Linked DNA regions of Homo sapiens: regions 1, 2, 3, 4, 5 and 6 are each linked to region 7. The links are contacts of gene promoters, found by promoter capture Hi-C in blood cells and fetal thymus (Javierre and others, 2016). All regions are on one chromosome and are shown on one strand. Each heading gives the region's core, a stretch centred on a gene start or on the middle of the fragment in contact. The rest is flanking DNA. Distances are from core to core; before and after follow the strand shown.

The links. The method cuts DNA at HindIII sites, captures the fragments that hold promoters and counts their contacts. A CHiCAGO score of 5 or more calls a contact.
Region 1: a fragment that was not itself captured here is called in contact with the fragment with the promoter of OXSM in region 7 in 1 of 17 cell types (activated CD4 T cells); the score reaches 10.4 in activated CD4 T cells.
Region 2: a fragment that was not itself captured here is called in contact with the fragment with the promoter of OXSM in region 7 in 6 of 17 cell types (non-activated CD4 T cells, activated CD4 T cells, total CD8 T cells and 3 more); the score reaches 9.8 in non-activated CD4 T cells.
Region 3: a contact is called between a fragment that was not itself captured here and the fragment with the promoter of OXSM in region 7, in 3 of 17 cell types (activated CD4 T cells, total B cells and total CD8 T cells). The highest score is 7.6, in activated CD4 T cells.
Region 4: a fragment that was not itself captured here is called in contact with the fragment with the promoter of OXSM in region 7 in 2 of 17 cell types (activated CD4 T cells and monocytes); the score reaches 6.6 in activated CD4 T cells.
Region 5: a fragment that was not itself captured here is called in contact with the fragment with the promoter of OXSM in region 7 in 1 of 17 cell types (activated CD4 T cells); the score reaches 6.9 in activated CD4 T cells.
Region 6: a fragment that was not itself captured here is called in contact with the fragment with the promoter of OXSM in region 7 in 2 of 17 cell types (fetal thymus and total CD8 T cells); the score reaches 10.1 in fetal thymus.

The regions. Positions count from the first base shown.
Region 1 is chr3:33,421,514-33,424,765 of GRCh38, forward strand. All of the region lies in intron 2 of UBP1 (upstream binding protein 1), which reads right to left. It also overlaps a transcript of FBXL2 not described here. Among named protein-coding and RNA genes, the nearest start is that of UBP1, 17 kb to the right of the region's middle. The HindIII fragment of the contact is 1,548 bases long and covers 639-2,186 here.
Region 2 is chr3:19,942,047-19,945,189 of GRCh38, forward strand. It overlaps a transcript of EFHB not described here and the pseudogene HSPA8P18. Among named protein-coding and RNA genes, the nearest start is that of RAB5A, 3.5 kb to the right of the region's middle. The HindIII fragment of the contact is 1,181 bases long and covers 819-1,999 here.
Region 3 is chr3:33,443,013-33,446,507 of GRCh38, forward strand. No RefSeq gene overlaps it. Among named protein-coding and RNA genes, the nearest start is that of UBP1, 4.4 kb to the left of the region's middle. RefSeq lists an enhancer at 3,491-3,495. The HindIII fragment of the contact is 4,305 bases long and covers 1-3,495 here.
Region 4 is chr3:32,102,928-32,106,074 of GRCh38, forward strand. No RefSeq gene overlaps it. Among named protein-coding and RNA genes, the nearest start is that of GPD1L, 2.1 kb to the right of the region's middle. The HindIII fragment of the contact is 717 bases long and covers 973-1,689 here.
Region 5 is chr3:31,541,328-31,544,587 of GRCh38, forward strand. The region is part of intron 1 of STT3B (STT3 oligosaccharyltransferase complex catalytic subunit B); the gene reads left to right. Among named protein-coding and RNA genes, the nearest start is that of STT3B, 10 kb to the left of the region's middle. The HindIII fragment of the contact is 5,509 bases long and covers 1-3,260 here.
Region 6 is chr3:32,685,981-32,689,319 of GRCh38, forward strand. All of the region lies in intron 1 of CNOT10 (CCR4-NOT transcription complex subunit 10), which reads left to right. Among named protein-coding and RNA genes, the nearest start is that of CNOT10, 2.5 kb to the left of the region's middle. The HindIII fragment of the contact is 4,533 bases long and covers 1-3,339 here.
Region 7 is chr3:25,788,237-25,791,436 of GRCh38, forward strand. OXSM (3-oxoacyl-ACP synthase, mitochondrial) reads left to right here and starts at 1,854. Exons shown (of 3, transcript NM_017897.3): 1 at 1,854-1,911; 2 at 2,754-3,200. The coding sequence starts at 2,785. It also overlaps a transcript of NGLY1 not described here. RefSeq lists enhancers at 1,333-1,862, 2,002-2,071, 2,082-2,151 and a silencer at 1,680-1,899. The HindIII fragment of the contact is 1,038 bases long and covers 1,188-2,225 here.

The DNA of each region.
Region 1 (3,252 bases), core at 163-2,662, 7.6 Mb after region 7:
CCCACCTCAGCCTCCCAAAGTGCTGGGATTACAGGCATGCGCCACCGCACCCAGCCTTAAACACAAATAAGTTTTTAAACTCAGTCCCTCTGAGGTTCAAAAAGAACTCAAAAAATGACACTAAGACATCAATACAACTAGGAAAACTTGCTCCAATTTCTACTGACAAAGTGAAGACTATACCAAATTTGATTTTTATTTTCTTTACAGCATTACATAGTGGCAAATATTCTTCATCAAGAATGACCATTTCGGCTGGGAGTGGTGGTTCACACCTGTAATCCCAGCACTTTGAGAGGCCAAGGTGGGTGGATCACTTGAAGCCAGGAGTTCGAGCCTGACCAACATGGTAAAACCCCATCCCTACTAAGAATACAAAAATTAGCCACACATGGTGGCATGTGCCCATAGTCCTAGGTACTCCAGAGGCTGAGGCAGGAGAATCCCTTGAGCCTGGGTGGCAGAGGTTGCAGTGAGCAAGACTGCATCGTTGCACTCCAGCCTAAGAGACAGAGTGAGACCCTGTCTCAAAAAATAAATAAATAATAAAATTAAAAAGAAAAAGAAAAGCAAGTCTAGTGAGCTGAAGATACTTTGCTAGTCTGGATCTTTGTTTGTCTTATTACTTTAAATTAGCAAGCTTCTATTATTCAGTAGACAAAGAGGTAGGGTGAAAGATACTCAGAAATGTCTCAGTCTGGTCCAATCCTTGTCCAAATCTAGAAAAAGCTATGAATCCTCTCATTAGAAAAATATACCTTTAAGGACTACATCCCAGCTACTCAGAAGGCCTGAGGCAGGAGGACTGCTTGAGCCCAGGAGTACAAAAACAGCCTGGGCAACATAGCAAGATCCTGTCTCTAAAAACAAACAAATAAAAGGAAAAGAAAAGAAGGGAGGAGGGAGGAAAGAAGAAAAAAAGGCCAGGTTCAGTGGTTCACGCCTATAATCCCAGCACTTTGGGAGGCCAAGGCAGGAAGATCGTTTGAGCCCAGGAGTCGGAGATTAGCGTGGGCAATGAATAGTGAGATCCGCCATCTCTACGAAAATTTTTTTTAAAAATTTGCCAGGCATGGTGTCCTGTGCCTGTAGTCCCAGCTACTCAGGAGGCTAGGGTGGGTGGATCACTTTAGCCTGGGAGGTCAAGGCTGCAATAAGTCATGATTGTACCACTACACTCCAGTCTGGGTGACAGAGCAAGACCAAAAAGAGAGGGAGAAAGAAGGGAGAGGGGGAGGGAGAGGAGGAGGGGGGGAGAAAGGGGGAGAAGAGAAAGGGAGCAGAAAAAGAAAAGGAAGGGAAGGAAGAAAATATACATTTATAGAAAATTAAAAACTTGTTTAAGGATTCATGGAAAATTTTGGGTTTAAAACTTTTTGTCAAGATGATAAATGCTAAGATACAGTCTGTGCAAAGCACAACACACTATATTATATATGATACTCATATAGGTATTATTTTGAAAGTTATAATTTCTTTTAAAAGGGTACATAAAAGTACAGTTCCTTTAAAATTACTCAAAAAAAAGTTTGTTTTTTTTTTTTTTGAGACAGAGTCTCGCTCTGTCACCCAGGCTGGAGTGCAGTGGTGTGATCTTGGCTCACTGCAACCTCTGCCTCGGGTTCAAGTGATTCTCCTGCCTTGGCCTCCTGAGTAGCTGGGACTACAGGTGTGTGCCACCATGCCTGGCTAATTTTTGTATTTCTAGTAGAGACGGGGTTTCACCATGTTGGCCAGGATGCTCTTGATCTCCTGACCTCATGGATCCGCCCACCTTGGCCTCCCAAAGTGCTAGGATTACAGGCGTGAGCCATCGTGCCCGGCCCATATTTTTTAAAATTACTAAAATGTATGTTGTTTTAAACATGTCTACATATACAGTTCAGCTTTCTACCTTTTTTCTGAAAAGACTAGAAAAAATCAAGAAATAAATGAACACAATTCCAGAACCAAGAAAATACTCAACATTAATACTGCAGTAAGCAGAATAAAGGACAAGAAAATCACCTGCCCTTACATTGATTATATTCAAGTGAGGTATCACCTGAGAAAGAGGCACAAGGGAGCCTGCTGGAGTACTGGAAAAGATGGAAATAGGTAGTAGTTTCAAGGGAATATATATGTAAAAATTCATTAAGATTTGTGCACATTACTGTAATACTTCAAAAAAATTTTGTTAAAACCTAAGCTTTCCAAATGGACACTGAGCAAGGTAATTAACTGCTCTAAGTTTAATCTATAAATGAATAAATCTCTCCTAGAGTTACTGTGAGAACTGAATAAGGTTAACACATGTATTTAGTACAATGCTAGATGCACAGTATCAATTAATGTCAGTCTACTATATCACTACTACAGATGGTGGATTATGACTTTTATCGATATGAAATATCTTTATCTGGTTTAAGAACAACCATGATAAATTATGGGCATTCCCCCAGGCCAATAAATGCACATCCTACATGTTGCTTTAAACAGGGTGTATATGTGTACTAATTCATTCCATGGTATGTATGTAACAGAACTTAATCGACTATTCCACAAGTAAGGAAAATTCAGGTTATTTCCTTTTTTATCTTTAGAAATAAAGTTACAGTGAATATCCTTGCCCCTACATTGTTTCTTCTGTTATTTTTATGTCTACAACAGATTACCAAATAAGTTATTAAGGTTCTTTCAAATATAAAACTTAACTCTCAAATAAGTGATTGCCTATCCAAACACTAAATATAAAAACAAACAGGGAATTGTCACAAGTGCCAGAGACAGGACTACCTGAAGGTAAAACCTTATAGATTCTAAACTTATATATCAAATGAAAAGGTAGAAATAAGTTATTCTTCCACATTTCAGATTAATCACATGTAAAAGTCTAAAATCTATTGCTCTTTCCAAAACTTCGAGTAAAAATTCTATTTAATGACAGAAAAATAAACACTATATACTCAAGTGAACAGATGTATAATTCTAATTTTTTGAAAGAAAATGTATATACATTCAAGAAACAGACCAAAAATATTAGTCAATTTTTGGCATTATCCCTTCACATATTTCCCAGTTTTTCTACAATGAGCATATAACAGTAAAAATGTTCAAAAAATTGTTTAAAATCAGAATTCAACCTGCTTTCAGTATATGTATCCAACAAATTAATTCCTGCATTCAAAATACTTTTGTTTACAGGGGTAAGTCACATCAGCCTGTGCCCAAACTGCAAAGGGCAAACTCTCCTCTTTCCAAAGATAAACTCGG
Region 2 (3,143 bases), core at 159-2,658, 5.8 Mb before region 7:
ACTCAGGAGGCTGAGGCAGGAGAATCACTTGAACCTGGGAGGCAGAGATTGCAGTGAGCCGAGATCGCACCACTCCAGCCTGGGTGACAGAGCGAGAATCCATCTCAAGAAAATAAATAAATAAAAATTTAAAAGTACCACTTCTAAGGTCAAAGATCAGCACATTTCATTGAGCTCCAACCTTTTGCCTAAGGCATAAGCAATAGAAGCAGCAGTTAGCTCATTGATAATTCTCAGTACATTGAGATAAGCAATAGTTCCAGCATCTTTGGTAGCTTTGATGCTGAGAATCATTAAACCAAGCTGATATTGTGACCACAGCATTGGTAACACTCTTTCCAAGGTAGGCTTCTGCCATTTCCTTCATCTTTGTCAGAATAACAGAGCAGCTGTCCCCAACCTTTTTGGCACCAGGGACCAGTTTCATGGAAGACAATTTTTCCACAGACCAAGTTGCAGGGGGTAGGATCGGGGGAAGATAGTTTTAGGACAATTCAAGCACATTACATTTATTGTGCACTTTATATTATTATTACATTGTAATATATAATGAAATAATTATATAACTCACCATAATGTACAATCAGTAGGAGCCCTGAACTTGTTTTCCTGCCACTAGACGGTCCCATCTGGAGGTGATGGAAGAGAGTGACAGATCATCAGGCATTAGATTGTCATAAGAAGTGCTAGATCCCTTGTGTGTGCAATTCACAATAGAGTTCACACTCCTATGAGAATCTAATGCTGCCACTGATCTGACAGGAGGGGGAGCTCAGGTGGTAATGTGAATGATGGGGAGCAGCTGTAAATACAGATGAAGCTTCACTGACTTGCTGCCACTCACCTCCTGCTGGGCAGCCAGTTCCTAACAGGCCACAGTCCAGTACCAGTCCATGGCCCTAGAGGACACCTTTCTGGACAGAAGTTTTTTTTATCTCTCCCTTGTATTCTACTTGGACCTTGGGCCTGCCAACATTATTCACTACCATGAAGGGCCAATGCTTCATATCAGACTGGACAACAGCATAATCAAGTCTGTGTCCAATCAGCAATCAGATTTGGCATCAAAAACTGTGTTCATGGGGTTCATTGCAACTTGATTCTTTGTGGCATCACTGAGCAATTGTTCAGTATCAGTAAAGGTGACATAGCTTGGAGTGATTCAATTTCCCTGATCATTGGCAATTACCTCTATTTTTACATGCTGGAAAACACCCACACAAGAGTAGATGGTGCCAAGATGAATACCAACTGCAGGTCCTTTAAACAGGGTTGTTTGCATGTAGGCCGGATTGGATTCTGAAGAAAGACATAGGAACCCCAAAAGTGGCCACAGCATTCAATAAATCCCCATAAATTCTTCAAATGACTTTGCAGTATGTAAATCCAGGTAAGGGCTCATTCAATTCATTCATTCATTCTACAAACAGGTATTGAGTCCCTCCCTATTTTGTGTCAGTGTTGGGAATACAGTTAGCCCTCTGTATTCCATCGAAAGTATTTGAGTTAAAAAATGAAAAAAACACAAAATAATACAAATTAAAAAAATACAACTATTTACATATCATTTACATTGTATTACTTATTGTAAGTAATCTGAAGATGATTTAAAGCATACAGAATAGCCTACATGCAAATACTACACCATTTTACATGAGACTAGAGCATCTGCAAATTTTGGTACCCATATGGTGGGGGAATAAGGGAGTGTCCAAGAACCAATCACAAGCAGATGGACTGACTGTATAACCCAACCCCTATCTCATGGAGCTTATATTCTAGTAGGGATAGATAACCATTAAGTGGAACGATGCGTAATATCATATCAAATGGTGCTAAGTGTTATGAAGACAATGCATAATATCATATCAAACAGTGCTGTTATGAAGACAACAGACTACTTCGATATGTAACAAAGCATTTAGAATTAGTGGGCTTAGAAGTCCCTTAGGTAGATGACATTTGAGCTGAAGCCTGAATGATGCCCTCCAAAGACACAAGCTTTTGAAACATGACTAGCTTAAGTTTTCACAGCCTTTTATTCACTGACTTGCTACTACGCCAATGTTAGAGTTACCGTTGGTTTGTCTCCAGGAAAAATTTTGAATTGTCTCCAGACAGTTCCAGTTAAAAGTAAATGTAACCATTCATTATCATCTATGCAAAGATTCATTCTTTAGCTACACAAGGGAGGACAGATTTCCTGGAAGAGAAGGAAAAGGTTATGGGATCCTGTGAATGGTAGAGAGACACCTGCCACTGGGAATTTGTTATTGAGTATTTAGAGATTTGAGGGCAGTATAAGCATCAAAGACAGTGTTTAAGTCTTCATGATTATTTATCCATTTTGTACCTTCCTTAACAAGTTCTATCAACTGGTAGGACTCCACATTTGACACTAAAATATATACAATTATCAGTCCTCCTCAGTTATCTGGGGCTATGAAAAAGAAAACATAGGCATATTGCAAGTGGCAATAAAACAACAGAGCTTTACTGTGTCATTTCAATTTCTCTAAAACTACTACCGGATCTTTAGAAATGCCAGCCACCAGGGCAGCACTCTTCCAGGCAAACATTATGACTAAACTGTAAAATATTGTGAAAAGTATTCATGAAGGAGGTGAAGACAAAATCACTAAACAGGAACGAGTGAAGAAGCAACATACTGGAACGATGAAATAGGGAGTTTTTTGCAATTTATAAATTTCAGCATCAAATGTTTTTCATTGTGAGGTCTTCTTAATGTTCGTGATTCTAAATGTAATTAAGTTCACCAATACTTTGGGGGTCCCTATTATAGCAGTCAAGGGTCTTCTGTGAAGAACTGAAATGATGAATAACTGATGGTCACAGCCCTTAAAAACCTTATAATTCAATGAAAGGCTAAGGAGAAAAGTCCAGGTGCTCATTAGCTATTAAAATAAGGCAGATTTTAAGACAGCCATTATACAGAGTAAGGCAAAGTATTGTGAAATTACAGAAAAAATAATAATTGAATCCAGTAGAAGTATCTGCAGATGCGGTCCAAAGGAACTGGTGTCCTGGCTAAGACGGAGCCAGCAGTTATGGGCAATGATAGTGTTCCATGTGGAGAAAATAAAGTGATCAGATACCAAGATGGCAACACACAGGCAATATTC
Region 3 (3,495 bases), core at 229-2,728, 7.7 Mb after region 7:
CTGCCTGCCTCAGCCTCCCAAAGTGCTGGAATTACAGGCATGAGCCACCGCTCCTGGCCAAAAAAATTTTTTTAATTAGCCAGACATGGTGACCTGCACCTGTGGTCCCAGCTACTCCAGAGGCTGAGGTGGGAGGATCACTTGAGACCAGGAGGTCAAGGCTTGCAGTGAGCCATGATAATGCCACTCTAGCCTGGGTGACAGATGAGACCCTGTCTGGAAAAAAAATAGAAGTATCAAGCAGCGCTAAATAGTAATGTCATAAAGAGACCAAAATATAAAAGAAGGATAGTGTTAAAAGAAAACTTTAGACAAATTAAATATAAGAGTTTAATTTTGCAAAAAAAAGATTTGTCAATCAGGTAGCCACCCCGAACCAGAATATGTTCAGAGAGACTCCAACACTGTTGCATGGTGGAAGAAGATTTATGGACAGAAAAAGGACAGTGATGTACGGAAAACAGAAGTGAGATATAAAAACAGCTTGATTGGTTGAGTGTATTATTTGAACAGTTGGCCTCCTGTAATTAGCCAAAACTCAGCGATTGTTATAATAGGTTATAGACCATTTATACATCCAGTTAGGTTACAATTTACTGTGTACAGAGAAACCTTTAGGCTGAACTTATAAGGAGGCAACTTTAGGCTAAACTCAATTTAACAATTTCTCCCCTTTTGTTCAACCTCTCAACTTGACCAAAATAGAGAGGTTGACCAAAATCCTAGACATTGACATTACTTTCTGACCATTGTAAATGTACTTATCTGGTCGCAAATCCCATTGGGAAATAGTACAACAGTGGGTTTTGTAAGGTGCGAATAAGGACTTTAGGTTATTTTCTGGTAAGCGTTAGAGTAGAGGATACTTTTTTTTTATTATGTTGGAATTTTTATTTATTTAAATTTTATGGACATTTTATGGATGATTGTATGTAAACATTTAAAACTTTTGAAAGTCCTTAGTGCACATAGGAGACTACTATTAAGATTACCAAGAGGATAATACCAAGACTTTGGAGTATGCCCCTTAGCCAGGGTCAACATGAACTAAACTAACTAAAATCAAATAGATCAAAGAAAGAGCTAGATAAAAGATCAAGCTGTTTTAACCAAGCAGCTTGTTTATTAATCCCCTGTAACTGAATCTCTATAATACCTGATATGTTCATCTCTGTGCAACAAGAAGTGTGAGCAACTGCAGATACTTCTCTGTATCTGCATACAGAGATACATACTTCTCTGTATGCAGATACAGAGAAGTATCTGCATACAGAGATACATACTTCTCTGTATCTCAGTAAGTAATATACAGCAATTCCGTTATCTAGCACAACTTTAGCAAGAGAACTTAAAGTCTGTTGTGCCATGGCCTTTGCAGTAGAGTCAGCTATAGAGTCTACTATGAGGGATAAATTTCCTTTTTCTTTCTTTTTTTTTTTTTTACTTGTTGAGACGGAGTCTTGCTCTGTCACCCAGGCTGGAGTGCAGTGGAGCGATCTCGGCTCACTGCAAGCTCCACCTACCGGGTTCATGCCTTTCTCCTGCCTCAACCTCCCGAGTAGCTGGGACTACAGGTGCCCGCCAGCACACCCAGCTAATTTTTTTCTGTTTTTAGTAGAGACGGGGTTTCACCATGTTAGCCAGGATGGTCTCGATCTTCTGACCTTGTGATCCGCCCACCTCAGCCTCCCAAAGTGCTGGGATTACAGGCGTGAGCCATCATGCCCGGCCTTTTTTTTTTTTGAGATGGAGTTTTGCTCTTGTTGCCCAAGCTGGAGTGCAATGGTGTAATCTTGGCTCACTGCAACCTCTGCCTTCCAGGTTCAAGTGATTCTCCTGCCTCAGCCTCCTGAGTTTTTGGGATTACAGGCACCCGCCACCATGCCCAGCTAATTTTTTGTATATTTTTTTTCAGTAGAGATGGGGTTTCACCATGTTGGCCAGGCTGGTCTTGAACTCCTGACCTCAGGAGATCCACCCACCTCGGCCTCCCAAAGTGCTGGGATTACAGGTGTGAGCCACCGCGCCCGGCCATGAGGGATAAATTTCTTTTTTTTTCCTTTTTTTTTTTTTGAGAGAGTCTCACTCTGTTGCCAGGCGGGAGTGCAGTGGCACAATCTCGGCTCACTGCAACCTCCACCTCCTGGGTTCAAGTGATTCTCCTGCCTCAGCCTCCTGAGTAGCTGGGATTACAGACGTGCACCTCTATGCCCAGGTTTTTTTGTTTTTTTGTGTGTGTGTGTGTTTTTAGTAGAGACAGGGTTTTACCATTTTGGCCAGGCTGGTCTCGAACTCCTAACCATGTGATCCACACGCCTCAGCCTCCCAAAGTGTTGGATTACAGGTGTGAGCCACCATGCCTGGCCATGAGGGATAAATTTCTAATCATTGCTTCATTTATTCTAAATTATGGAAAAAGAGACAATAAATGATGTCTGTATCTACAAGACTGAAGGCCTCCTGGCAATGTTTTTTTTTAAATTTATGATATTGGTTAAGAGGAGTGGACTAAAGTTTTTGACTGATTATGAGGTAATAAAGGTATTAACATCAGTTATCTATATTGGGGTTTTTTAATTGTTTAATTTTTTTTTTTTGAGACAGAGTCTTGCTCTGTTGCCAGGCTGGAGTGCAGTGGTGCGATCTCGGCTCACTGCAACCTCCTCCTCCTGGGTTCAAGTGATGCCCCTGCCTCAGCCTCCTGAGTAGCTGGGACTATAGGTGCCCGCCATCATGCCTGGTTAATTTTTTTGTATTTTAGTAGAGACGGGGTTTCACCATATTGGCCAGAATGGTCTCGACCTCCTAACCTCGTGATCTGCCTGCCTTGGCCTCCCAAAGTGCTGGGATTACAGGCATGAGCCACTGCACCCAGCCTATTTTTTAATTTATTAAGGCACAAGGTTGTTTGTTAGAAGACTGGCTTTGAAATCTTTTATAAATAAAACTATATTCTATGAGTGCATATAAGACTTTTATTTATTTTTATTGTCTATAGAGGCATATGTAAGGAAAAAATTAAGAGGTAAGAGTCTCATGATGGTAGAGAAGTCTTGATTTGTGATCTTGGGAAAGTTGTCCATGTCTAGGATGTTGTCTGTTTTCAGAGAAAGTTTTTTTTTTTTTTTTTTTTTTTTTTTTCTGGTTGGTTTTTTGTTTTTGTTAGTTTTAGGTCTCTAATGGGTATATAGTTTTAAGAGTCTGGGCCAGGCGTGGTGGCTCATGCCTGTAATCCCAGCACTTTGGGAGGCTGATGTGGGTGGATCACCTGAGGTCAGGAGTTCGAGACCAGCCTGACCAACATGGAGAAACCCTGTCACTACTAAAAATACAAAATTAGCCGGATGTGGTGGCACATGCCTGTAATCCCAGCTACTTGGGAGACTGAGGCAGGATAAGTGCTTGAACCCAGGAGGTGGAGGTTGCAGTGAGCTGAGCTCGTGCCATTGTGTAAACGCACCAATCAGCACCCTGTCAAAATGGACCAATCAGTGC
Region 4 (3,147 bases), core at 81-2,580, 6.3 Mb after region 7:
TTTACAAAATCATTTAAGAGCAGGGACCTCTCTTAAAGGCCTGTGGATCTCCCAAGCATGGAAATAACAGAAAATCTTGAGTTCCTTCAAGGGAAATTCCAGGCACCTTCCCAGCCTTTAGAAGTAAATGAGCAAATTAATAAGCAAGAAGGTAATAGTAGCTTAAAACAATAGCCAAGGCCGGGCACAGTGGCTCACGCCTGTAATCCCAGCACTCTGGGAGGCTGAGGCAGGCAGATCACTTGAGCTCAGGAGTTCGAGACCAGCCTGGGCAACATGGCAAAATCCCGTCTCTACAAAAAATACAAAAATTAGCATTGTGACATGTACCTGTAGTCCCAACTACTTGAGAGGCTGAGGGAGAGGATCACTTGAGCTGGGAGGCAGAGGTTGCAGTGAGCTGAGATTGTGCCACTGCACTCCAGCCTGGATGACAGAGCAAGACTCTACCTCAAAATAAAAAAAAAAAATCAAAAATAAAAAGCCAAGGAAGTTAGAGTCAGAAGATGGTCCCTATAGAAACTAATGATGCATCTTAACTATGTCCCTGAGTTGTTTTTTAAAAACCCAGACCCTCACGAAATGTATCCACTGGCATATAGACCTCAGATAAGGAGGAACTGAGGATTGAACTCTGACCACTGTTCTTCAACGTCTTTCAGAGGGGCCTGAAAGTCATGTCTGCAAATCAGAACTAACATTCTTTTTTTTTCTTTTATTTTTTCTTTTTGGAGACAGTGTATCACTCTGTTGCCCAGGCTGGAGTGCAGTGGCACAATCATGGCTCACTGCAACCTCCACCTTCCAGGCCCAAGCAATCCTCCCACCTCAGTCTCCCAAGTAGCTAGAACCACAGGTCTGTGCCAGCATGGTCAGCTAATTTTTAAATTATTTTTGTAGAGATGGGGTCTCCCTATACTGCCCAGGCTGAGAACTAACGTTCTTTTCTACTGACCCCAAATTTTTAGACAAAGCTTTGTCTAAAGTTCCTTAACCAATTGCAAAAAAGAAAATCTCTGATTCACCTATGACCTGTGGGTCCCCCTCCCCCACTTTGAGATGTCCTGCTTTTTTAGGTCAAACCAATGTGTAGCTCCATGTATTGATTTATGACTTTGCCTGTAACCTCTGCCCCACGCACCTTTATTTTACTTTTTATTTTTGAGACAGGGTCTTGCTCTTTCATTCAGGCTGGAGTGCAGTGGCACAATTACAGTTCACTGCAACCTCGACCTCCTAGGCTCAAGTAATCCCCTCATCTCAGCCTATTCCGACTAGCTGGGACACCCAGCTAATTTTAATTTTTTGTAGAGACACGGTATGTGTTATCCAGCCTGGTCTTGAACTCCTGAGCTCAAGCAATCTTCCCACCCCGGCCTCCCAAAGTGTTGAGATTACAGGTGTGAGCCACCGCGCCTGGCCCCCAGCTGCCTTTAAAAACCCTTACTTGCCAGCCATCAAGGAGGAGCTACCTGATTCTCCTTGCTTGGTACCCTACAGATAAACACCCTTCTTTCTCCCTCTGCAAACCTTGGTGTGGGTATTTGGCCTTACTGTGTCAGGTGAAGGGACCCTAGTTCAGTTAGATAACATAAATATTTGCAGTGTATGTGTACTACCCAAGGACATGACTTCATTATTCAATTTGACAAATGCGTTCTGTTACACAAATACAGAAAGGATTAATAAAGCTTTACTAGTCCATCTTTCCCATTATCCCTGCATGTATCCTTGCATTAGTGCAAATAATTGAGAACAAACCATTGGTGAGGGGATGGAAAGACTGCTCTGACTCACCAGCTCCCTTTAAGTATTTCCTTAAGTAAATATCATAAGTAACACAAATAAATATTTCATACAATGTAGAGAAAAAAGCAAAAATAACAGTTCTCTGAGCATCAAACTAATAGGCTTAGTATTACTATCATTTTTTTGAAACGGAGTGTCGCTCTTGTCGCCCAGGCAAGATCTCGGCTCACTGCAACCTCCGCCTCCCAGGTTCAAGAGATTCTCCTGTCTCAGCCTCCTGAGTAGCTGGGATTACAGGCATCTGCCACCATGCCTGGCTAATTTTTTGTATTTTCAGTAGAGACGGGGTTTTGCCAAGTTGGGCAGACTAGTCTCCATCTCCTGACCTCAGGTGAACTGCCTGCCTCGACCTCCTGAAGTGCTGGGGTTATAGGCGTGAGCCACGGCACCCGGCCTAGGCTTAGTTTTTTGTAGGTACTAGAGTATTTGTTTCTTTAGCCAGAATCCACTGATATTTTAGTCTTCTGGTTCTCAATCTTGGCTTGCTTTTGCAACTACCTCTTGAACTTTAAAAAATTCTGCTCCAGCCTGGGCAACAGAAGGAGACTGTCTCAAAAAATATATGTCAATAAGTAAATATCCTGATGCCTGGATCCCACCATGGGACATTCTGATGTAACTGGCCTGCAATGGTGTCTGGGCATGGGGATTTTTAAAAGCCCCAGTGACTAATATGCAGCAGAGTTTGAGAACCACTGGTTTAAAGGACTTTGTCCTACTCTGACAGCGTCTAGCACAGTGCCTGGCAGAGACTGATGCTCAGAATGAACAAACTAAGATTCTATTTGTCAAGGAGGAGAGCATTGTGTTACTCACAAATGCAAACAAACCACAAGCAAGGGATAAGTCAGGCCCTGGGCAAAGACAATGGTAAAGCAATTCCTGCCAAGTAAGCGTGTGAGGGTGACACCCACTGAATGCAAGCTGTTGTTACCTTTTTCCCTTTATTTTTATGTATTTATTTTTTGTTGAGACAGGGTCTCACTGTCCTTCAGTCTGGAGTGCAGTGGCCCTATCCTGGCTCACTGAAGCCTCGACCTCCTGGGCACATGCAATTCTCCCGCCTCAGCCTCCTGAGTAGCTAGGACTATAGGTGCGTGCCACCATGCTTGGCTAATTTTTTAAATTTTTGTACAGAGGGGTGGGGGGTCCTAATTATGTTGCTCAGGCTGGTCTCGAACTCCTGGGCTCAAGTGATCTTCCTGACTCGGCCTCCAAAAGTGCTGGGATTACAGGTGTGAGCCACTGCACCAGGTCAAGTTTCTATCTTGACTCTAACTAGAAAAGGTGTCATCCTTGAAATGCAGGTACTGTTCAGCCAAATTCCAAAGTCCTCTG
Region 5 (3,260 bases), core at 401-2,900, 5.8 Mb after region 7:
TGACTTTATAGTGATGACATCCTTCCTTTTTCTCATAGGTGGTAAACTCTGTGTGCATTGCTAAACAATACAATTTAGTTTTGCCTATTTTTAAACTTCAGATAAATGGAATTGTGGCTTTTGTGTCTTTTTTTTTCTTTTTTTGTTTTTTTTTTTTTTTGGCTGAGCATTTTCTTTAAGATTCATCCTTGTTGGTCAAAGGATTGTTGACAATATGTACGTAAGTAATAAAGTTCAGCAATAATTTTTTTGTTTGTTTGTTTGTTTTAGATGGAGTTTCTCTCTGTTGCCCGGGCTGGATTGCAGTGGCGCGATCTCAGCTCACTGCAAGCTCCACCTCTTGGGTTCATGTCATTCTCCTGCCTCAGCCTTCTGAGTAGCTGGGACTACAGGCGCCCGCGACCATGCCCGGCTAATTTTTTGTGTTTTTAGCAGAGACGAGGTTTCACCGTGTTAGCCAGGATGGTCTCGAACTCCTGACCTCGTGATGCACCCTCCTCGGCCTCCCAAAGTGCTGGGATTACAGGCGTGAGCCACCACGCCCGGCATTTCAGCAATAATTTGGCTAACCAGGTGTCTTATTCACCTGACGGGGTTGCCTGTTCTTTTATAGCGGGAGGTGCCTCTAGGAAAGAGAAAGGGAAGGTATTTTTCTTTTCACTTGAGATTTAAAAAAATTATCTCAAGGCTGAACCCTTGAGGTGGAGTCATCCTTGACTAGAGTAACTTTGACAACTTTGTTTTAAGGTACTAATTGTCCAGAGATTTAATTTTTCTACAGAAACCAAAAATACAAGAAAGTGGGTGGGAGAGAAGAGAGAGACATCGTCTTTAAGGAGACAAATGATAATCAGATAAATGCAAAATGACTGGTTTTAAACTATGGCTTTTTGTCAACTATTAAAGTATTGTATATTAAAATTGGCATAAAGAAGGCATTGGTTGCTTGATACTTCTTGAAAGCAGGAAAGAGAATACTGGAACTGGAGGTCTGAGCTGAGGAATTTAGGAAAACCCTGGGCATGGACTGTTTGCTGTATTGATATATTTGTAGAGATTGTCAATCCTGGTTTTGAGGTATTTTGTTGTTTATTTGTGTAGATGTAGCAATTTTGCATATATTGCATTTCTGTCATAGTTAATTCTTTGTTGAAGAAAAATTTAAATCTAGGACTGTCTTTCTTCAAACTCTGTTTAGTCAGCCAGTATTTCTACAGAATTCAAACTTAATATTTAAACCAAGTGTCTTAGGGTGGGTATACGTACTGTATCCCATCTTCACAAAATCCCATGTGTACCTGCCAGAGAGTAATATAAATGGCTCAAATTAGGCTCTATTTGGATGATGGTCCAACTGAGTGATTTAAGCTATTTTTAACGCCTCTAGTGTATTTCTTGTAGAATTCCTCAAATGGAGATTCTTTTCTGAGATATATTGACTGTTAAGAAAAATTCCAGGCTGGCTGGGTGTGGTGGCTCACGCCTGTAACCCCAGCACTTTGGGTTACACGAGGGTGGATCATGAGGTCAGGAGTTCAAGACTAGCCTGGCCAACATGGTGAAACCCTGTCTCTACTAAACTACAAAAATTAGCTGGGCATGGTGGTAGGCACCTGTAATCCCAGCTGCTCGAGAGGCTGGGGCAGGAGAATTGTTTGAGCCCGGGTGGCAGAGGTTGCAGTGAGCCGAGATTGCGCCACTGCACTCCAGACTGGGCAACAGAGTGAGACTCCATCTCACAAAAAAAAAAAAAAAAAGAGAAAGAAATAAATTCCAGGCCTACTTCTCTCAGAAATCACAATTGATCATCTGTGTCTTACGTGAGAGGTCTAGGTACAGGTTTTATTAATACAAAACAAACTAAATTTTACTTAGGACTGTTTATTTGGCTAACTAGGCCAGAGCCATTTTGAAGATTTTAACACCTGTGCATGTAAAAACACTCAAGGAGACTTAAGTTATTTGTTCTTTGCCAAAGTTGGTAAGGTACTGTTATGATTATTTAAATTTTGGTGCTCATTTTTCCTCTAATGAATATAATAATAACTTACTACTATTATTGTAGGGAGGCAAAAGATTCTTTAAGGCAAGAACATTTTTCTAATCTTTCTAGAATATCCTACACAGTATTAGGAACATAGTGAGTGCACAGTGAATATTAAGACAGATCCTTTATCTTTAATGGTAACCACATTTTATGTTTTGGTCATAATAGTAATAGTACAGTAAGTCTCTGTTGTGCAATACTTTGAAATTTTGGATTTGACTGTGATGTCAGTAAGATCACATGTGCAGTGAACATCATAATCCCAGTTTCAATACACATGTCATATTATTCTTTATAGAAGAAGGGAAGAGTTGATGAAGAAAAGGGATAATGCTTATGGAAGAAATGGTATATGTGAGCATCATGACAGCCATCAACAATTGGGAGATGAATGGCTGGATGGATAACTTAGGAAGAACTTTGAGGAAGATTTTAGTTTCTTGAGTATTTCTTCCAAGTACAAGTAACTCTTACAGAGGTCTGTCTCCAGTGTTAACTCACTAGTTAGGGAACATTGAATAAGAGAAGACAGACCAGTTAATATACAAAAACCATATGAGTTATGAAAGTTTTATTATTTTTCAAATGAGAAATGAAAAAAGACAGATGACAGCAATAGAAGTAAAATTCACAAGATGCCATTTTAATTGAACTTGAGAAATATATTCTGATACGAAGGAATAGTAAGAATTGAAATTATCATTGCATACATAGGCATTAGTTAGAATATACTAAATTCATGCACATGATGAATTTGGGTGGGGTTGGATTAATGATTCATTTGGTTTCATGGCTCTTGATTTAACTTTATGATTATAGTTAATTAATATGCAAATTAAGCAACACTTTAGGAAACCATCACAGCTCTGACTGATCTCATTTAAACTTTCCCATAAGAGGTTAAAGGATACTAAATAAAAATACTCATTAGGGATAAAATAAGTTGCTTGTCTTCATTAAAGTGTCTTTGCAATGGAAATAGCTTTGTTCTTGTCTAATTACTGGAGAGGATCATTGAATATTGTAGATATTGTGGGTTAAATAAACCAGATAAAGTCTTTATTTTCTTTTATTATGCATTGAATCCTGACAAAATGGTCAGCTCTTTAGTTATAGAATCATTCCATGTAATAATGGCAGTATTCCTGTGAATCCTAAAACAGTATGCTGTAATGATCTCACAAGATGTTTTTGCTTTTAAAAATGTGTGCTG
Region 6 (3,339 bases), core at 782-3,281, 6.9 Mb after region 7:
GTGCCCAGGCTGATCTCGAACTTCTGGGCCCAAGCGATCCTTCCGCCTTGGCCTCTCAAAGTAAACCACTTATTTAAAAAGGCATAAAATCCTATTGTCTCTCTACAGTCTGTGCTCCTAAAATCTTGCATTTGGTACTTAATTGCTCTAGTTCCTCGAAATTACTTAATCTCAATGGTTTTCTTTATGGATTATTGCTCCCATTCCTAGAATCTTCCACATTAAGGAATATAAAATTATTTCCTGACCTTGTCCGGAATGTTTCCCGCAAGAAATTCATATTCTTTGTGGCATCCAGGTTTTATTGGAAAGAACTTAAGTGACAGGATTTAAAAGTGATGGAACTTAAAATTTTTACAGTGAATTTAATTTAAAATTAAAGAAAAACTCAGTGTGCTGTGGATTTTAGTAGGTTCTGGTCACAATAACTGACAAATGAACTTCACTTGGAAATTAAGCCAATTCTATTTTAGGTACAGAGGAATAAAAATCATTAGAGGATCTCTTCAATAATCTAAGAAGAAAAACAACAGAACAAAGGCCTTGAGAGGGTATAAGGAATGTGCTGTGAAATTTTGGATAGGTTGTTCAGGGAAGGCCTCTGGTGAGATGATATTTGAGCAGAGATATGTAAGAAGTGAGGGAATGAGCCATAAGAAATGAGGAAAGGTGGATGAGGGAGAGACTATTAGACAGGAAAACGGCATGGCCTGTCCAAGGCTGGACCAGGGGACCAACATCTTCCTCCTTATTTTAGAATAGTGTCTGTGTTCCCCACATTTACCATTCCTACTTGCTCATACCATTGCGCTTGCCCGAAATCACCCTTTTAGACCTAAAGCCCATCCAGTTTTCAAATCCTCAGTCATAAAGCCTTCTACTTGTTCATTTATTCATTCGCAAAGATTGAGTGTTGAATAATGGATATGACACACTCCCTGCCTTTGAAGACCTGCTGTTCAGTCTGTTGGAGGAGACAGGCATATCCTAGCTGCACTCCTGTTTGGTAAGAGCTGTGTAATGTGTGTAGTTGAAGAATAAGGTCCACAGTGATTAGGGGACTGTTTTTTTCATTGGTTTAAGTTTATAGGCCATATTGAAGGAAACTTCCTGCTTTGATATAAGGTTAAATTTGAATAAAATAGATGAGTGTTTAGTGTAGCTCCTTTGAATCTCTGCTCATCTCCATCTCATCTGCTGTGTTTCTGGCCTTTATCTTTTAATATGATCTATGTCGCATTGAGTAGTCTTCTCACTGGTGTTTGTCTCTTGTCTCTTCCTATCCCATCCATTTTCCTCACTGTCGCCCCCCGCTTTTTTTATGTCCTAAGACATTCATTGAATCCTGTCATTCCCCTTCCTATAAAGTTTCTAAGACTGTACATGCTTTGGGCATCAAGTCATCATTCTTTTTATTTAATTTTTATTGTATTTTCTTTCTCCTTTTAAGTCCTCACGGTTTTTTTTTTTTGTTTTTTTTTTTTTTTTTGAGACGGAGTCTCGCTCTGTCACCCAGGCTGGAGTGCAGTGGTGCGATATCGGCTCATTGCAAGCTCCGCCTCCCGGGTTCACGCCATTCTCCTGCCTCAGCCACCCGAGTAGCTGGGACTACAGGCGCCCGCCACCACGCCCTGCTAATTTTTTTGTATTTTTTAGTAGAGACAGGGTTTCACCATGTTAGCCAGGATGGTCTCCATTTCCTGACCTTGTGATCCGCCTGCCTCGCCCTCCCAAAGTGCTGGGATTACAGGCGTGAGCCACCGCGCCCTGCCGTCCTCACTCTAATGTGGTTTGTGAGCATCTTCAAAATCTATTTCCAGCTGGATTTCTGTATCAACCCACCCAGCTCTTCACATCATAAATTACTGTTGCAAAGCATTGTGTTTTTTGAGCTTTTGAGCCGTAGTGTCCTTTCTCTTCTCCGTCTGGTGAACACTATTCATTCAGTCTATCTTACATGCTGCTTCCTCTCTGAGCTCACGAGGTCAGGATATTTGTCACGGAGGGTCTTGTGTGTGTGTTCTTCATCAGGTAAGAAAAAAGGGTCATGAAAGGACTTAAGGTGAGTGATCTGATCACACTGACTGTTGTAGGTGGTGGATTTAAATGAAGTAAGACAGGAAGCCTAGAGACCACCTAAGATGAGTTAATGTTGTGATATTAATTTATTCAGTAAATATTCACCAATGGCCTGTTTTGCCAGGTACTACTTTAGGAACTGGGCAGGAACAAAACAAAGTCTCTGTTCTGGAGCTTATTTACTATGAAGGACAGATAAGCATGTAAATAAAATGAAAAATAAGATGATTTCAAGTTGTGATAGATACTCTGAAGAAGGCCAAGTGCAGTGGCTCACACCTGTAATCCCAGCATTTTGGGAGGCTGAGGGGGGTGGATCACCTGAGGTCAGGAGTTCAAAACCAGCCTGACCAACATGGTGAAACCCCATCTACTAAAAATACAAAAATTAGCCAGGCATGCTGGCGCACACCTGTAATCCCAGCTAGCTGGGAGGCTGAGGCAGGAGAATTGCTTGAACCTGGGAGGCAGAGGTTGCAGCAACCCGAGATCGCACCACTGCACTCCAGGCTGGGTGACAGAGTGAGATTCCATCTCAAAAAAAAAAATAATACTCAGAAGAAAAAAATGAGTAAGAGAGGCTGTCTGCAGTTGCTCACACCTGTAATCCTAGCACTTTGGGTGGCTGAAGTGGGAGGATTGCCTGAGGCCAGGAGTTTGAGACCAGCCTGGGCAGCATAAGTGAAACCCTGACTCTAAAAAATAAAAAGCCAGATATCATGGTGTGTGCCTATAGTCTCAGCTCCTAGGGAGGCTGAGGTGGGAGGATTGCTTGTACCTAGGAGTTCAAGGCTGCAGTGAGCTTTGATCACGCCACTGTCCAGGCAACAGGATGAGACCCTCTCTCAAAAAAATAAAATAAAAGGCCGGACGTGGTGGCTCACGCCTGTAATCCCAGCACTTTGGGAGGCCGAGGTGGCAGATCACGAGGTCAAGAGATCGAGACCATCCTGGCTAACACAGTGATACCCCGTCTCTACTAAAAATACAAAAAAATTAGCAGGGCCTGCTGGCGGGTGCCTGTGGCTCCCACCTGTAATCCCAGGACTTTGGGAGGCCGAGGTGAGTGGATCACCTGAGGACAGGAGTTTGAGACCAGGCTGGCCAACATGTTGAAACCCTGTCTTGACTAAAAATACAAAAATTAGCTGGTCGTGGTGGCAGACGCCTGTATTCCCAGCTACTCGGGAGGCTGAAGCAAGAGAATCACTTGAACCCAGGTGGCAGAGGTTGCAGTGAGCCAAGATCGTGCCATTGCCC
Region 7 (3,200 bases), core at 604-3,103:
AAGACATGTATAGTGAGAAAATCAGTTTGCTGGGTGGCAAGCTCATTTAATAGAGAATGGGAGCCATAATTGGAAAGATAGTTTTGAATCAGATTACAAAGAATTTAAGGCAAACCTAGGAAGTCTTAATAGGAGGGTAGGATAAGCAGAGCCCATTTGAAGATTTTGGTGCAAGAAGACACGATGGAATTGTAGCAGGAAATATGGTACCAAATATGTAAAGCCATTAAATATCATAAAATTTCCCACCCTTTTCCAGATCAAAGAAAAGGTGATAAGAGGTAGATACAAAAATGATGGTCTTTTTATTTTTCTGAAAGATTTTGTCACCTCTTAGCCAAGACGATTTTGTGATATTACAAAAGAAATAGCACATTAAAACTGTATGTTTCTTATGAGTTCAGCTTCAGAGAAAATATTGTAGGTATTTTCACACTATTATTTTAAAGACAGCAATGAAAAGAGATCAAGTTTAGGTACTTACTCATCAAGTGTTACTTTATAACCACATGTGTTTGTTTTAATTCTTCAAGAAACTCTACTTTGTCACTGAATGAGGATCAACTAGAGGTGACTGGTTAGGCCTGGGACGAAGGTCAAACTGAGCTTTGCTGAATTATTTTAAACAAAATAGATTTCCAAACTCATTTAAATCCAGGACCAACCTGGAAAGCTAAGCTTGACTCACATTCTTCTGTAGGGGTAGGAAAGAATGCAGAGCACTCTACTTGGAAACAATGGCTTCAAGAGGCATTGCCCAGAAAAAACCATAAATATGACTAGAAGGTCCAGATGAAGATTCTATGCTCAACCATTTTTCTAAAGAAGAGCAAGGACAAAACTCACGCCTGGGATAGCATGTGAAAAACAGATGTTCGATGAATACCATCTTGTCGACTTCTTGCTTTTTTACATTTTCATGTTATATTTTCCCTTTATCGGTTTGCAGTCAGCTCTAAGCAAACAGTTAATGAATTTTTCACACTTAGAAACAAATGTCTCCATTGTGACAATGGAGACAATTTTTGAGCACTGTCTCAAATCTGGTGATAATTTTTTTTTAAGTGAAAGGAAGTTTATTAGGAAAGTAAAGGAACAAAGAATGACTACTCCATAGGCAGAACAGCCTGGTGACAACTTTTAAAAAGTAAAAACTTTATTACAAAAACATTTGTTTATTGTAGAAAAGCTTTATTAAATAAAGCTAAGCAAAAATAAGGAGGGAAAGATCACAATCAGTATACATCTTGCAGACCTTTAAAGAATTATTTTTGAAAAAACGGATATATACTGTTTTGTAACTATGTCTCCTAACAAATAGTCGCAACATCTCATTAATAAATATTCACCTGCAGAATTATTTTAAACGGCTGCATGGCATTTGGATGTACCACAAGATACACAACAAATTTCCTGATGTTGGCCATTTTGGTTAATTCCACTTTACTCACAATTACTAATAACGTTGCGAGCTATAGCAATAACTTTGAAACTGCAGAGAATTTCCTTAATTCTTTCTTACAATTCCAGTAGAATACGATGGTGTCCCTTCTCCGACAAAAGGGAATATTTGGGCATTATCACTGCCAAAGAAAAATGCCTTTTTGATGGGTGAAAATGCTACCTCATCGCGTTATTGGCAGGTCCTCGATTATCGGCGAGTCACTGAGGTTCCGAGAGGGGCGTCTCTGCTCACGCAAACAGCTACCCAGCCGCCTCCCACGGTCTGACCTCAGCCAAGGTGACGCGGCTTAAAGTCAACCGGCGGAAAGAGAGTCGAACGGGACGCGTGCGTGGGAAAGCGCATGAGCGTACGTGCGAGCGCGCATGAGCGTACGTGCGTGTGCGCGTGCGCTCGAGAGCGTCATCGCCCCCGACTGTGGAGAAGTGTCCGGGGTAGCCCCGTTACAGGTATCGCTGGCTACCCTCCTCCTTCGCCCCTCCTTTCCTCCTTTACATTCAAATCAAGTCGGGGTTGAATTTCGAGAGGGGAGTCCGAGGACCTGGGGCCTGATTTCTTTTTCTCTCGCCATGCTTCTTCGGGCTGTGTACATGTGTGGTGGTGCCTGAGAGGCGATACAGGGAATGGCTACACTCTTTTACTCCCGCCCCTGGCCTTCGTAGTACCCTTGAAGTGATCCACTAGTCGTAACCCCTCCTTCCACCAATGATTCAATTGGAGAAGTTTAGAGGAGTGGAAAGACTTGTCCCCTTCCCCCATCGCAAGCTTGGTCACAGAGTGTATTGCCAACCCATGTATCCAGACGCTCAGTCTAGGGCTCTTGGCCCTGGGTAGCGTTTTGAAAAGGCTGGTTATCCTTAAGTACTGAAGATTGATAAAGCCCACTTACTTACTTAAAAGAATATGCCCTGAAATGTGTTTTCTGTGCCACTGACACCAGAAATGCTATTTAGAAGAAGTTATCAGTAATCCTGACAAAGGATGCTTCCTGCAGCTCAAATCAGGCTGGAGGTGCCTTTATATTTTTCATTGAATTACTGTTTTGGTGACTCGAATGAATCATCAATTCATTTATTTGTCTTCAAATGTCTGACGGCACTTAAGGTCTAAAAAAGAAGGTAAGTTTAAACAGATAGTTTGATGTTAAGGTATAAATTGAAAGTATGTAACATTTTCCCTGTGTTCATTAGCAGCTCATATCAAGCACCCAAAGGAACACCTTGGATGTTTTTCCTTAGGCCCTTAAGCTATTTAAAAGAATACCTCCTAGGTGTGTTGTGGTCTTTTACAGGAATGTGTTTCTGATCATCTGAATCTTAATCATGTCCAACTGCCTGCAAAATTTCCTGAAAATTACAAGCACTCGTCTTCTATGTTCAAGATTATGCCAACAGTTAAGAAGTAAAAGGAAGTTTTTCGGAACTGTGCCAATATCCAGATTGCATAGGCGAGTTGTCATTACAGGCATTGGCTTAGTGACTCCTCTTGGTGTTGGAACTCACCTGGTTTGGGATCGTCTTATCGGAGGAGAGAGTGGAATTGTTTCACTGGTTGGTGAAGAGTATAAGAGTATCCCTTGCAGTGTTGCTGCTTATGTGCCAAGAGGTAGTGATGAAGGTCAGTTCAATGAACAAAACTTTGTGTCCAAATCAGATATCAAGTCCATGTCTTCTCCCACCATCATGGCCATTGGGGCTGCAGAATTAGCCATGAAGGATTCTGGCTGGCATCCTCAGTC